Regions from separate parts of the Homo sapiens genome. Here all the other regions are linked to region 3. The links are contacts of gene promoters, found by promoter capture Hi-C in blood cells and fetal thymus (Javierre and others, 2016). All regions are on one chromosome and are shown on one strand. Each heading gives the region's core, a stretch centred on a gene start or on the middle of the fragment in contact. The rest is flanking DNA. Distances are from core to core; before and after follow the strand shown.

Region 1 (4,032 bases), core at 1,352-3,851, 200 kb before region 3:
TACAAGATTTTCTATATAGTTGGCCCAGCAGCTCTCATTAAGTCCATGAAATACCGCATATTCCATCTTAAAACACACAAAAAGAGTATACCATGGCTCTGAGTCTCTTAAACATTTCTACACTTTAATTCTAAATCTTTTTTCTGGTTGGAAGATGCCCATTCACCAAGAAAGACAATTAACCATTCCCTAGAGCTCCTTTTTTTTTGTTTTTGTATTTTATTGAGATGGAATCTCACTCTGTTGCCCAGGCTGGAGTGCAGTGGTGCAATCTTGGCTCACTGCAGCCTCTGCCTCCCAAGTTCAAGCCATTCTCCTGCCTCAGCCTCCCAAGTAGCTGGGATTATAGGCGCCCACCACCACGCCTGGCTAATTTTTGTATTTTTAGTAGAGACAGGGTTTCACCATGTTGGCCAGGCTGGCCTTGAACTCCTGACCTCAAGTGATCCACCCACCTCAGCCTCCCAAAGTGCTGGGGCTACAGGAGTGAGCCACTGCGCCCGGCCCAGAGCCACCTTTACCAGAGATTCAACCAGGCCTGAGGTCTTAGGTTGCAGACAACAGGGAGATTCATTGCAGCACGAACTCAGGAAACCATTTCCTTCCATGTACTATTTGGGGTTATCTTATAGAATTCCTGGCATGCTTGGCCAGTATGCTGCCTGGATGTATGTTGGGGATATATGTATAATTTTCCCTGTGGCTGTGGCCACAGACCCATCACCACAAGAGGGGTTGGTCCACAGATCCCGATGCTGGCTTGGAGTTATTCTTATTCCCTACCCTTTTCACAGAATTGTCTTTGCCAAAGTCCATTAATATACCTTGATTGGATTTTGCTTTTTTTTTTAATTTTTTTTTGCTTTACAGATCTTCATAGTTTCCTGCCCATATCTCTAAAAGTCATTTTGCTTGAGTTGATATCCTACAGTTCTTACAAGACCTTTCTCTCCCAGGGTCACACAACTCTCGCCAATATTAAATTAATATCAGCTTCAATCACGGGTCTCTCCATGGGTTTCACGGGCTATTTGCTCGCAGAGTCCAGGGACATTTTCCTCATCCATTCCATCAGATCCCCAATTGCTTTCTCTGGCAACACACTCCTAGTATTTGTACGGTAAAGCTGCCTAAAAAAATTAAGTAATTCAAACTACTCTTGACCTTACTTTACACCACCAGGGCAATTAGAGTCACAGTCTGGGTGTGTCTGAGGACAGCAGGCCGCCAAATCCCAGTGATTTAGAGAAAACCGAGCAGAATTTCCCATGCCTCCTGCCTCATTGTCCCCCAGCAGAAGGTTCCGTCACCCCAGGTGCCCTCTAGGGTGGACCACTTCCGAGTTCATCCACTGTCAGGAAAAGGCACATGGCATGCAACCGCAAGACCGATGACTAGATGTCAGAGCTGGCTCCCGGTTGGGATATGAGTGACTTTGTGGAGGATGGCGCCTAAATGAGGCATGCCAATTTCTGCACCAGGGTGACGAACATAAGGGCTCCTTAAAGGCTAGCCCAATGTATCTGTATTTCCTTGGGGATTAAAACCCATGATCTTCAGTTCCTCAGAGAACTGAAAGTTGCAAGGAGAAATCCAGTAATTCCTGTTATCTGCAGGCTTTATAAGTCAGTGGAGCCTGCGGAAGTGGCCAGAATCCAGCACTCCAAGCACTGCTGTCTTCTCACAGAGTCTTGAAGCCAGAGCAGCGCCAGGATGTCACGGGAGCTGGCCCCACTGCTGCTTCTCCTCCTCTCCATCCACAGCGCCCTGGCCATGAGGATCTGCTCCTTCAACGTCAGGTCCTTTGGGGAAAGCAAGCAGGAAGACAAGAATGCCATGGATGTCATTGTGAAGGTGAGCCCCTTTCCTGGGAGGAGGATCCCAGACACCCCTCACACCCTCTCTCCTGTCTGCAGACTTTAAGAGACTCAAGGAACTTAAAGTTGGCCCTTAGGGGGAATGTAGAAGCTGGCTTGGAACAATAACCACTTCAACTCTCTGTACCTCCTGCCGTCATCTTAAAACAGGGGTGATAACAATGGTTCCCTCCAGGGTTGCTGGGGGGACTACAGGAGTTGGCAAATGGAAAGCTCTTAATGTAGTATCTGGCTCATTATACGTTCCAGATAAGGGTTAGCCATTATGATTTTTATTGCTATTTATTGAATGCCTGTATCAGGCACTATAAGCACATGGTTTCACTTCATAATCTTTATGAAGAGGGACTATTACTCCCCATGTAGAGGTGATGAACAAAGAAAGATGAAGTAACCTTATACAGCTACTCCTTTTCACCAGCAAAGCCCAGCTCCTTTCTCTCTCTTTCCTTTTCTTCTTTCTTTCTTTTCTTTCTTTCTCTCTTTCTTTCTTTCTTTTTCTTTCTTCCTTTTTCTTTCTTCCTTTTTCTTTCTTCTTTCTGTCTTTTCTTTCTTCTTCCTTTCTCTTTTTCTTTGTTTCTTTCTTCCTTTCCCTTCCTTACTTTTTTCCTTCCTTCCTTCTCTCTCCCATCCTCATCATCCCTCCCTCTCTTTGTCTTTCTTTCTTCTTCTCCTCCTTCCTTCCTCTCTCCCTCTCCTCTACTTCCCCACTCCTTCCACTTTCGCTTACGCTTTCCTTGGGTGATATACCCAATGTCCGGGGACACTGCTTGCTTTCTCTGGAGTCAATTGACTCCCTTTATCCTACAGGTTAATTAATTTTTGATGCTGGCAACTTAACCCTTTCCCAGGACTCTGGAAAGGTACTTATTACCTTAGGAAACCTGAGACACCATGGTGTGGTAGGGGGGCCAGGAGCCCTGGGTCCAGATTCCACCTACCAGACTTGTGAGCTTGGGAGGCCCTGCCCCTCCCTGAACCACCAGCTCCCCTAGTAAAATGGCGACCACATCCAAATACCACCTGTAGCACTGGCTGGTGAAGAGAACTCAGGGTGCCTGAGGCACCCAGCAGAGCCTGCAGCAAGGTGGGTATTCATGAGCCAGAGCCGCTGCTGTTGCTGTCACTGGGAAGGAGGATTGGAGTGAGGACTGGCAGGCTCTGTTCTTCCTTGGACGAGCCTCTCAGACCCAGGTGGCCCTGCCCTTTGGGAGGTAACCAAGGCCTTCTAGATGGTGTTGTTTAGCCAGGATAGCAATGCCAAGCCTGTGGGAGCCATGACAAGATTGTTCAATGGGAAACCCTGACATGCAAGGCAATGATTTTCCCCACTTCACACATGGCCCGTGGAGCCTGGGTAGCCACTGAGTTCCCATCTCCTTCCTCACTGATGAAACCCGGCTGTCTTTTTGTTCCTTGGTGAGTCCATCATGGGGGCTTGAACTCTGCATCTCCCCTGAGCAGCTGTGTCCTGCAGAGCATGTCCGAAGTCCTTGTCAAGGCTGCCTCACCCTCCCCATCCTACCAAGAGGCCATCCCCAAAACACTGCAAGAGCTACCCTACAGGGCACTCACAGTCACCCGAGAATGCCAGGCATTCAGAATAGGATTATCCCTAGCGCCCATTGACCAAGCACCTCCTATAGGTGCTAATTTTTGTATTTTTAGTAGAGGCGGGTTTCACCATGTTGGCCAGGCTGGTCTCGAACTCCTGACCTCAGGTGATCTGCCCATCTTGGCCTCCCAAAGTGCTGGTATTACAGGCGTAAGCCACCGTGCCCGGCTGGGACTGTATTTTAACAGTTCAACATGGTGGGCTTTGTAGTCACGCAGACCTAAGTTCAAATCCTGACTCTACCACCTATCCTGGCTGTATGACTTTAAGCTAGTCACTCAACCACTCTGAGCTTGGTTTCTGCCTATGTTTAATGGGCTAATAAGCATAGTTACCCCACAGGGTTGTTGTAAGGCTCGGAGTAGGTTTGCAGTAAATGTCAGCTTTTATAATTATTATCATTATAATTATACCTCTTTATTTCTAATCCAGTCTGTTATCTTTGCTTACTAAGGGCTTAATAAATATTTATTATTATTATTGTAATTATTCAAGCAAAGCCAAGAGGCAGGATATTGTGGGGAGGTCATGAGCAAGGGG
Region 2 (3,683 bases), core at 471-2,970, 220 kb before region 3:
CTCATCACCAAGGGGATGATGCTAAGCCGTTCATGAGGCGTCTGCTCCTGTGATCCAGTCACCTGCCAGACTCTTAGTAACAACCAGCTCTTCTGGGAAATAATAGAATGAGAACTCACCCACCACCCCTACCTACCAAAGGGCATTAATCTATTCATGAGGGACCTGCCTTCATGACCCAAACACCCCCATTAGGCCCACCCCCATACTGGGAATCACGTTTCAACATGAGATTTGGAGGGGACAAGCATCCAAACCATATCACCAAGGTCACACAGCTAGTCAACGATACTGCCAGAATTCAAACAAAGTTTTGTATGTCTGAGCACAAAATCTATATTCTAACCATTCAGCCACCTGCTGCCATGACAAGTAATGGAATTAAATAAGAAGAATACAACAAAATCTCACCTTAAAAAGCTTGTACTGAGCATTTTATGAAGTAATAACTTTTTTAGGCTAAAAATATTTCTTTCCAAATGCCTTAAAATATTGCTTATTCATTTATTTGTGAATTAAATGTTTACAAGCATTTACTTATGCATAGGACCCAAGCTATGGTAGATACAATTTTACCCCTTCCTTTAAGGAGAACAGTCTAAATTATATACACCTGAAAAAAAGAACATCAGTGCAAGAGTTAAGTAATAAGAACATATCACAAGACAACAAGTCAACATATGTCAACACATGTCATATGTAGTATATAATCATAGAAAGGACTCACTAATCAGGAAGTTCTAAGACTGTAATTCCTACTATATTGATTCATTCACTGAAAATGCCAGTTGAGCATAGCACTAGGCCAGAGAGTGTCCTGGATGGGAAGGAAAGGGAGGACTTTGAGAGATCAGTGTCACTGCACCTGCAGCACTCTGATAAGCTCAGGCTTGCCAAGCACCTGAAAAGAAGTGGGAAGATGCTGTAGTTTGAATATGGTTTGTTGAACCTCACCAAATCTCATGTAGAAATTTGATCTCCATTGTTGGAAGTGGAGCCTAATGGAAGGTGCTTGGGGCATGGGGACAGATCCCTCATGAATAGATGAATGCCCTTTGACAGGATGGGGTAGTGAGTAAGCTATTATTTCCCGTGAGAGCTGGTTGGTATATAAAAAGAGCCTGGCAACTCCCTACTCTCTCTTGCTTCCTCTTCTACCGTGTGATCTCTACACTTGCATGCTCTGCTTCTATGTCCACTATGAGAGGAAGCATACTGAGGCCCTCATCACATGGCCAGTCTTGATCCTTCCAGCCAGCAGAATTATGAGCCAAATAAACCTACATTTCTTTCTTTCCCTCTTTCTTTCTTTTCTTTTTCTTTCTTTCTTTCTTTCTTTCTTTCTTTCTTTCTTTCTTTCTTTCTTTCTCTTTCTTTCTTTCTTTCTTTCTCTCTCTCTCTCTTTCTTTCTCTCTCTCTCTTTCTTTCCTTCTTTCTTTTTGACAGCATCTTGCTCTGTTGCCCAGGCTGGAGTGCAGTGGCACAATCTTGGCTCAATGCAACCTATGCCTCCTGGGTTCAAGCAATGCTCCTGTCTCAGCCTCCCGAGTAGCTGGGATTACAGGCACATGCCACCACACCCAGCTAATTTTTGTGTTTTTAGTAGAGACAGGGTTTTACCATGTTGGCCAGGCTGGTCTCGAACTTCTGACCGCAGGTGATCCTCCTGCCTCAGACTCCCAAAGTGTTGGGATTACAGACGTGAGCCACCGTGCCCAGCCTAACCTTATTTCTTAATAATTACTCAATCTCAGGTATTCCTTTATAGCAACATAAAATGGACTAAGACAGAAGGTGATGGAAATTTTCCAAAAGATTAACCTGGACCTTTAATAAGAGGTGAGGGATACTAACACCCAGAATGATTGGGACTCCACTGCTAAAGACAGGAAAAGGTTAATGTAAAACCAAATTAGGATAAAAATGATGAATGCAAAAGGAACGGAGCATATGGAATGTTAACAGATGGCAGAGGGAAAGCCAAACTACCGGTTTCCTATATTACATCATCTTGATCATGGAAAAAGATTTGATCAGGTGAAAATATCACAAAGAGGGAAACTGAGCTCAGGATAGGAAGAAAAGATGGAGAAAGAGCACACAAAAATTTAAATTAGTTCAAATTACCAGATCAAGAGAAATTACTGCCCAAGATACTAAAAGGATATTTAGATCTGATCTTAAGAAACATATTCAGTGATCTTTGATAAATTATGCTAGAAGATTTTAACGAGTGAGAGTCCCATTTCAAATAAAGGAGAAAGACTGATAAACAGATCTCGAGACCAAGAGGTATGGTGTTGATTTTTAGCAAAGTTCTGCACCTGATTATTAAACTAAAACAAAAGAGGTTAAGTACAAGAGCTCATTTGGGTTCCCTGTGAATGATCACACCAAAGGAATAATATTTCACAGTTACTAGCATAAATAGACCTGGAGACTGTTGCAGGAAATTGCATACAGAATCTTGACTGTAGTAGGCTTTGGACAAAGCATTTTATAATCTGTTTATGGAGAAGATGAAGTAATTTAGACTTCGAAATATCAGTTTGGTGAAGTCATAGAAGGTTAAACAACAGTGGCCCAATTTTGTTTAATCTGACAAAATGAGACTGAAAGCAATTTTTTTTCCTTCCTTCCTTCCTTCCTTCCTTCCTTCCTTCCTTCCTTCCTTCCTTCCTCTCTTTCTCTCTCTTTCTCTCTTTCTTTCATCTCATTATGTTGCCCAGGCTGGTCTTGAGCTGCTGGCCTCAAGCCATCCTCCTCCCTCAGCTTCCCAAAGTACTGGGATTACAGCCCTGAGCCACCATGTCCTGCCTGGAAGCAATTTTCTAATAAAATGCTGTAGTTCTCTCTCCTTGAAATTTTTTTTTAATTGAGATGAACACAAATTCAGACTTCTCATTAAATTTTAAATTAAACAAAGCTAGGAAGAAAATTGAGATTCAAAACTGCTTCAATAATTTGGAATACGCCAAAAACATTATGGTGAAATTTCACCATCCCACCTTTAAGCTTTTAAAATCCAAATTGGAGGCTGGACACAGTGGCTCATGCCTGTAATCCCAGCACTTTGGGAGGCTGAGGTGGGCGGATCATGAGGTCAGGATATCGAGACCATCCTGGCCAACATGGTAAAACCCTGTCTCTACTAAAAATACAAAAAATTAGCTAGACGTGGTGGCATGTGCCTAAAATCCCAGCTACTCTGGAGGCTGAGGTGGGAGAATCCCTTGAACCAGGGAGTCAGAGGTTGCAGTGAGCCAAGATCATGCCACTGCACTCCAGCCTGGCGACAGAGCAAGACTCCATCTCAAAAAAAAAAAAAAAAAATCCAAATCGTATCTCAGCATATGGTAGACCAGATGCAGCCTTCTCAACTCATCTCTATTCTGGATAAAACAGACTTTTTCATATGTTGGGCTGACATGTATCAAAATAAGAGTAGGGGGCAGTAAGCAACAAATAAATGTGAAATGCAGTGTTGTCCTGAGAACAAATGTGTATATCGTACCCATAAACAATATTGGGAGACTAAACTTGGCCAGCTGTAACTTTGAGGAGCTGAACCTGAAAGCTCCATGTTTAGCCGGGACCCTCAAATGAGCTATGGCAGTGCCAGATGCTGGTGTGACTTCACTACAAGCATGTTCAAAGAAGGATGTTCTCTGTAAACCACCCAA
Region 3 (4,077 bases), core at 1,228-3,727:
TCAGGAGAACCATGTAAAAAAATGTAGACAAAATCTAGAATGAGACCCACAGCCCCGGGCACTGATGAGAGACAGTGCTGGAAGTAGCTGCTGCCTCTGTAAACAGTGGGTAGATCAGGCAGTCTGTGATTTGCTAGTGCTGCGGTTTGGTTTGGTTTTGTTGTTGTTTTAGAGATTTCATGTCGTATTTGGATACTTCTGGTTTACTTTAAGTTTCTTTATTCAGTTAATTAAATAAATACACATTTTTAAAACAAAGAACAGATCCAAATTGAGCCCAGCTGGGCCTTGGGATTCTTCAGAGGGGAGGCTGGTTTCTGAATGGTAAAGAATTCCAGGAGATTCTGAGGTTCTCCCTCCCCAGTACAGGAGATGGACCCCAGAAAGAAGACAACAGCGTGCCATGCAGATTCTTCTGCAGGGAAGCCACCCTTGGGGAGGGGGAGGGCTGCTGGAGATCAGCTGGGTGGTGCGGCTGCCATCTGGGCCCAGGAAGCAGGAAGCAGCCTTACCTGCCAGGACAGGTGTGGGGGAAGGGAAGGGTGAGGCCCTAAGGCCCAGGGGAGGCTCAGCCTAGAGGGAATCCCTTTTCCACTGGAGAAAGTCCTGGCAGCCACACCCATCTCCCTTTCTTCCTGTCACTAGGGTCACTATAGTGACCTGGTTTCCTCAGGAAGAGACCCAAATCACAGGCCAGGGCCAGTCCCTGGTTCTCCTTAGGAAGAGATCCAGACCCAGAACCCTCCTCTGCCCCAACCCACACCCACCCACCCACATACACACACACACATACACACACCCATACACACGTGTAGGTGGATACACATTCTCTGCATACATTCCGTGTACATGCAAACTCTTTGCATATGCACATGCTATACACACATGCTATGTGTGTACACACGTTCTCTGCACAAACGCCCACATGCACACACACATCACAGCCCCTACCATCACAGCCCACACTATCAGTAGCCTTGTGGCCCTCTGGGAAGCCTCCAACTATCTCAGACCACAAGGGAGACTTCATCCTTATTCTTCCTCCCCAGACCAGAAGGCCCAGTCCAGCAAGAGACACCAATTCCCTCCCTCCTTTCAGGAAGACCCTGGTGTAGGTTTGGGAGAGGAGAGGAAAACAAAGCCTCCTTCTAACTGTTGCCCACTTCCTTCAGTTCTCAGCTGGGCCCTACTTGCTGACCTTGGACAGGTCAATTAACCCTCCGGACCCCCTTATCTGTAAAATGGGTCTAGCCTCACCCCAGATGGCAGGATGCGTAGGGACGGAGATAACTTAGAAGGCTGACGGTACACAGTGGACGCTAGTTGGGCTCCCTACAAGACAGCAATTACTGTTACCACCACCATCTCTAAATTATAACTTCGGCAGCAAGGAGTGGGTTCAACCTGCGGCGCGCGGCCAGAGCTGAGCTGGGAGCAGAGAGAGCGAGGACACACACCCGCGCCTACCCTTGCAACCTCGGGGCCCACACCCATTCCAGCGACGGCAGGGGAAGGTACCAGGTCTCTGTCTCCACCTGGGCAGGGAGGCCCCAGGCGCAGAGAACGGTTCCTCCTCAGGTCTCACGGCCCGGCCTCCGAGCCAACGCCCATTCAGCTGCCTCTGAGAGCACCAACCTGGGCGCAGCAGGGAGAGCACTCCGCGGAGCATCTGACCCTAGGGCCCGCCCCCGGGGACAGCGAACGAGGGTTTCTAGTCCCCTAGCTCCCATAGGGGCGCCCCAGGTGTAGAGAAATGCAACAACTCCACCTCTCCTCCTGTGACCCCAGCCCAAACCCTCAACCCTTAGCCAGCCAAAGGTGCACTGCTGGGGCGGATGGCGGGGAGCGATCACAACAGGTCCCATCCCAGGGGAAGACACCGGGGAGGGGGTCTAGGCCCCCTATAACCCACCCCTGGGGACGACTCCCCCTTATCTCCGAGGTGGGGGCGCGCTGCGGGAAATCCTCGCCCTCCGCAGGGGTGCACGCGCGGGGGCGGGTCGGCACCACAGTGGGCGCCTGGGCCCGGCCAGAGAACTCACCGATGGACACGAGCTTGATGCTCTCACGGTCCAGGAACTCGAGCGCCACGGACACATTCTCGAGCTGCATCTGGCGAAAGGTGGGCCGCTGATGGTACTTGCGGTACATGCGCTTCTGGCTGAGCACCTCGAGCAGCGCGATGAGCCGCAGCCCGTCGCTCAGGTCGGTCTGCAGGTTGCCGATGCGTTTGTTCACGCACTTGAGGTGCTCGTTGCACCAGCGTGTGAACGTGTTCTGCTGGATCTTCTTCCAAGGCGCGTCCTCAGCTAGATCCTTCTCGGTTACCGGCATCCTGGTGGCGGGGAGAGCGCAATGCGCAACGAGCTGCCGGGGACTGGTGTTTGGAGGCCCAAGGGCCGAAGGAGCGAGAACCGAAGCGGAGCGGGAGCGGGGTTCGAACTTGCTGCTACCGGAGCCACGGCCGGTGCTGCTCTGCGGCCGCCCGCCCCTGGCCGCGCGAGGCGCCTGGCCCCGCGCCTGCGCGCTGAGCCGCCCCGCCCCCAAGCCCCGCCCCGTCCCGACCCTCCCGCGGGAGTTCCTGGGCCACGCTCGCCTCCTGCCGCCTGCCGCAGGCACTGCGCCCCACTGCGTCCTGGGACCCGCGCTCGAAGCCCACCACCCCAGCAGGATGTAGGGCTGCCTGAATCACCCGGTCAGCCCCGGGGTGGGGGGACCCGCGGGGGCTGGGAGCCGGACAGAATGGGTCGGGCCTCAGTGGGACTTGCGGGAGGGGCGCGCGGGGCGGAGGTCTTCATCCACATATAGATTGAATAAAATTCAGTAAGGGCTTTTATTGAGCTCCGCCTGTGTACCAGCCATTCTTCTCAGAGCCTGCTAACCAGTAGTAAATCAGACAAACGTATTGCACAACCTCAAGGAGTTCACACAGCCTAATGGAAGAGAAAAGTGTAATTCCACCATAACCAACAGCCCAGTAGTGGTGGTAAAAATGAACAATAAGGCTTGTTGCATGTCTTAGTTTCCAGTTACTGCTGTAACAAGTTACCAAAACTTAGTGTCTTTGAAAACACACACCCACAAATGTATTATCCTTCAGTTCTGTAGGTTCGATGGCCCACACAGGTCTTGCTGAGCTAAAAACAAAGTGTTGGCAGGATGCATTCCCTTCTGGAGGCTGTAGGGAAGAATCTGTTTCCTTGTGTTTTCTAACTTCCAGAAGCTGCCTGCGCGCCTGACTCCTGCCCCTTTTCTCTGTGAAAGCCTGCAATGGGCTGGGCACAATGGCTCACACCTGTAATCCCAGCACTTTGGGAGGCCAAGGTGGGTGGATCACCTGAGGTCAGGAGTTCGAGACCAGCCTGGCCAACATGGTAAAACCCCATCTCTACTTAAAATACAAAAATTAGCCAGGTGTGGTGGCGCGTACCTGTAATCCCAGCTACTGGGAAGGCTGAGATAGGAGAATCGCTTGAACCTGGGAGGCAGAGGTTACAGTGAGCTGAGATGGTGCCATTGCACTCCAGCCTGGGCGACAGAGCAAAACTCCGTCTCAAAAAAAAAAAAAAAAAAAAAAAAAACAGAAAAGCAAGCCTGCAATGTCAGGTGGAGTCTCTCAGACCTCAGACAGTCCTCTCTCCATAGGCACATCTTCCTTTTTTTTTTTTTTCCTGCGATGGAGTCTTACTCCGTTGCCCAGGCTAGAGTCCAGTGGTGCAATCTCGGCTCACTGCAACCTCCTCCTCCTGGGTTCAAGCAATTCTCTTGCCTCAACCTCCTGAGTGGCTGGGATTACAGGCACCCGCCACCACGCTCCGCTAATTTTTGTATTTTTAATAGAGACGGGCTTTCACCATGTTGGCCAGGCTGGTCTTGAACTCCTGACCTCAAGCGATCCACCAGCCTCTGCCTCCCAAAGTGATGGGATTACAGGCATGAGCCACCTTGCCCAGCCTTTTTTTTGTCTCACTCCGTCTCCCAAACTGGAGTGCTATGACTCAATCTCGGCTCCCTGCAGCTTCAACCTCCCCACACCTGGCCCTTTTAAGGACTCTTAAGATGACATTGGGCCAGCTG

Evidence for each region. The method cuts DNA at HindIII sites, captures the fragments that hold promoters and counts their contacts. A CHiCAGO score of 5 or more calls a contact.
Region 1: a fragment that was not itself captured here is called in contact with the fragment with the promoter of FLNB in region 3 in 1 of 17 cell types (naive CD8 T cells); the score reaches 5.3 in naive CD8 T cells.
Region 2: a fragment that was not itself captured here is called in contact with the fragment with the promoter of FLNB in region 3 in 4 of 17 cell types (naive CD4 T cells, erythroblasts, fetal thymus and 1 more); the score reaches 7.0 in naive CD4 T cells.

Annotation. Positions count from the first base shown.
Region 1 is chr3:58,208,588-58,212,619 of GRCh38, reverse strand. DNASE1L3 (deoxyribonuclease 1L3) reads left to right here and starts at 1,648. Exons shown (of 8, transcript NM_004944.4): 1 at 1,648-1,854. The coding sequence starts at 1,714. The HindIII fragment of the contact is 7,867 bases long and covers 1-4,032 here.
Region 2 is chr3:58,230,165-58,233,847 of GRCh38, reverse strand. No RefSeq gene overlaps it. Among named protein-coding and RNA genes, the nearest start is that of ABHD6, 5.8 kb to the left of the region's middle. The HindIII fragment of the contact is 2,595 bases long and covers 423-3,017 here.
Region 3 is chr3:58,006,822-58,010,898 of GRCh38, reverse strand. FLNB (filamin B) reads right to left here and starts at 2,477. Exons shown (of 46, transcript NM_001457.4): 1 at 2,043-2,477. The coding sequence starts at 2,334. The HindIII fragment of the contact is 11,042 bases long and covers 1-4,077 here.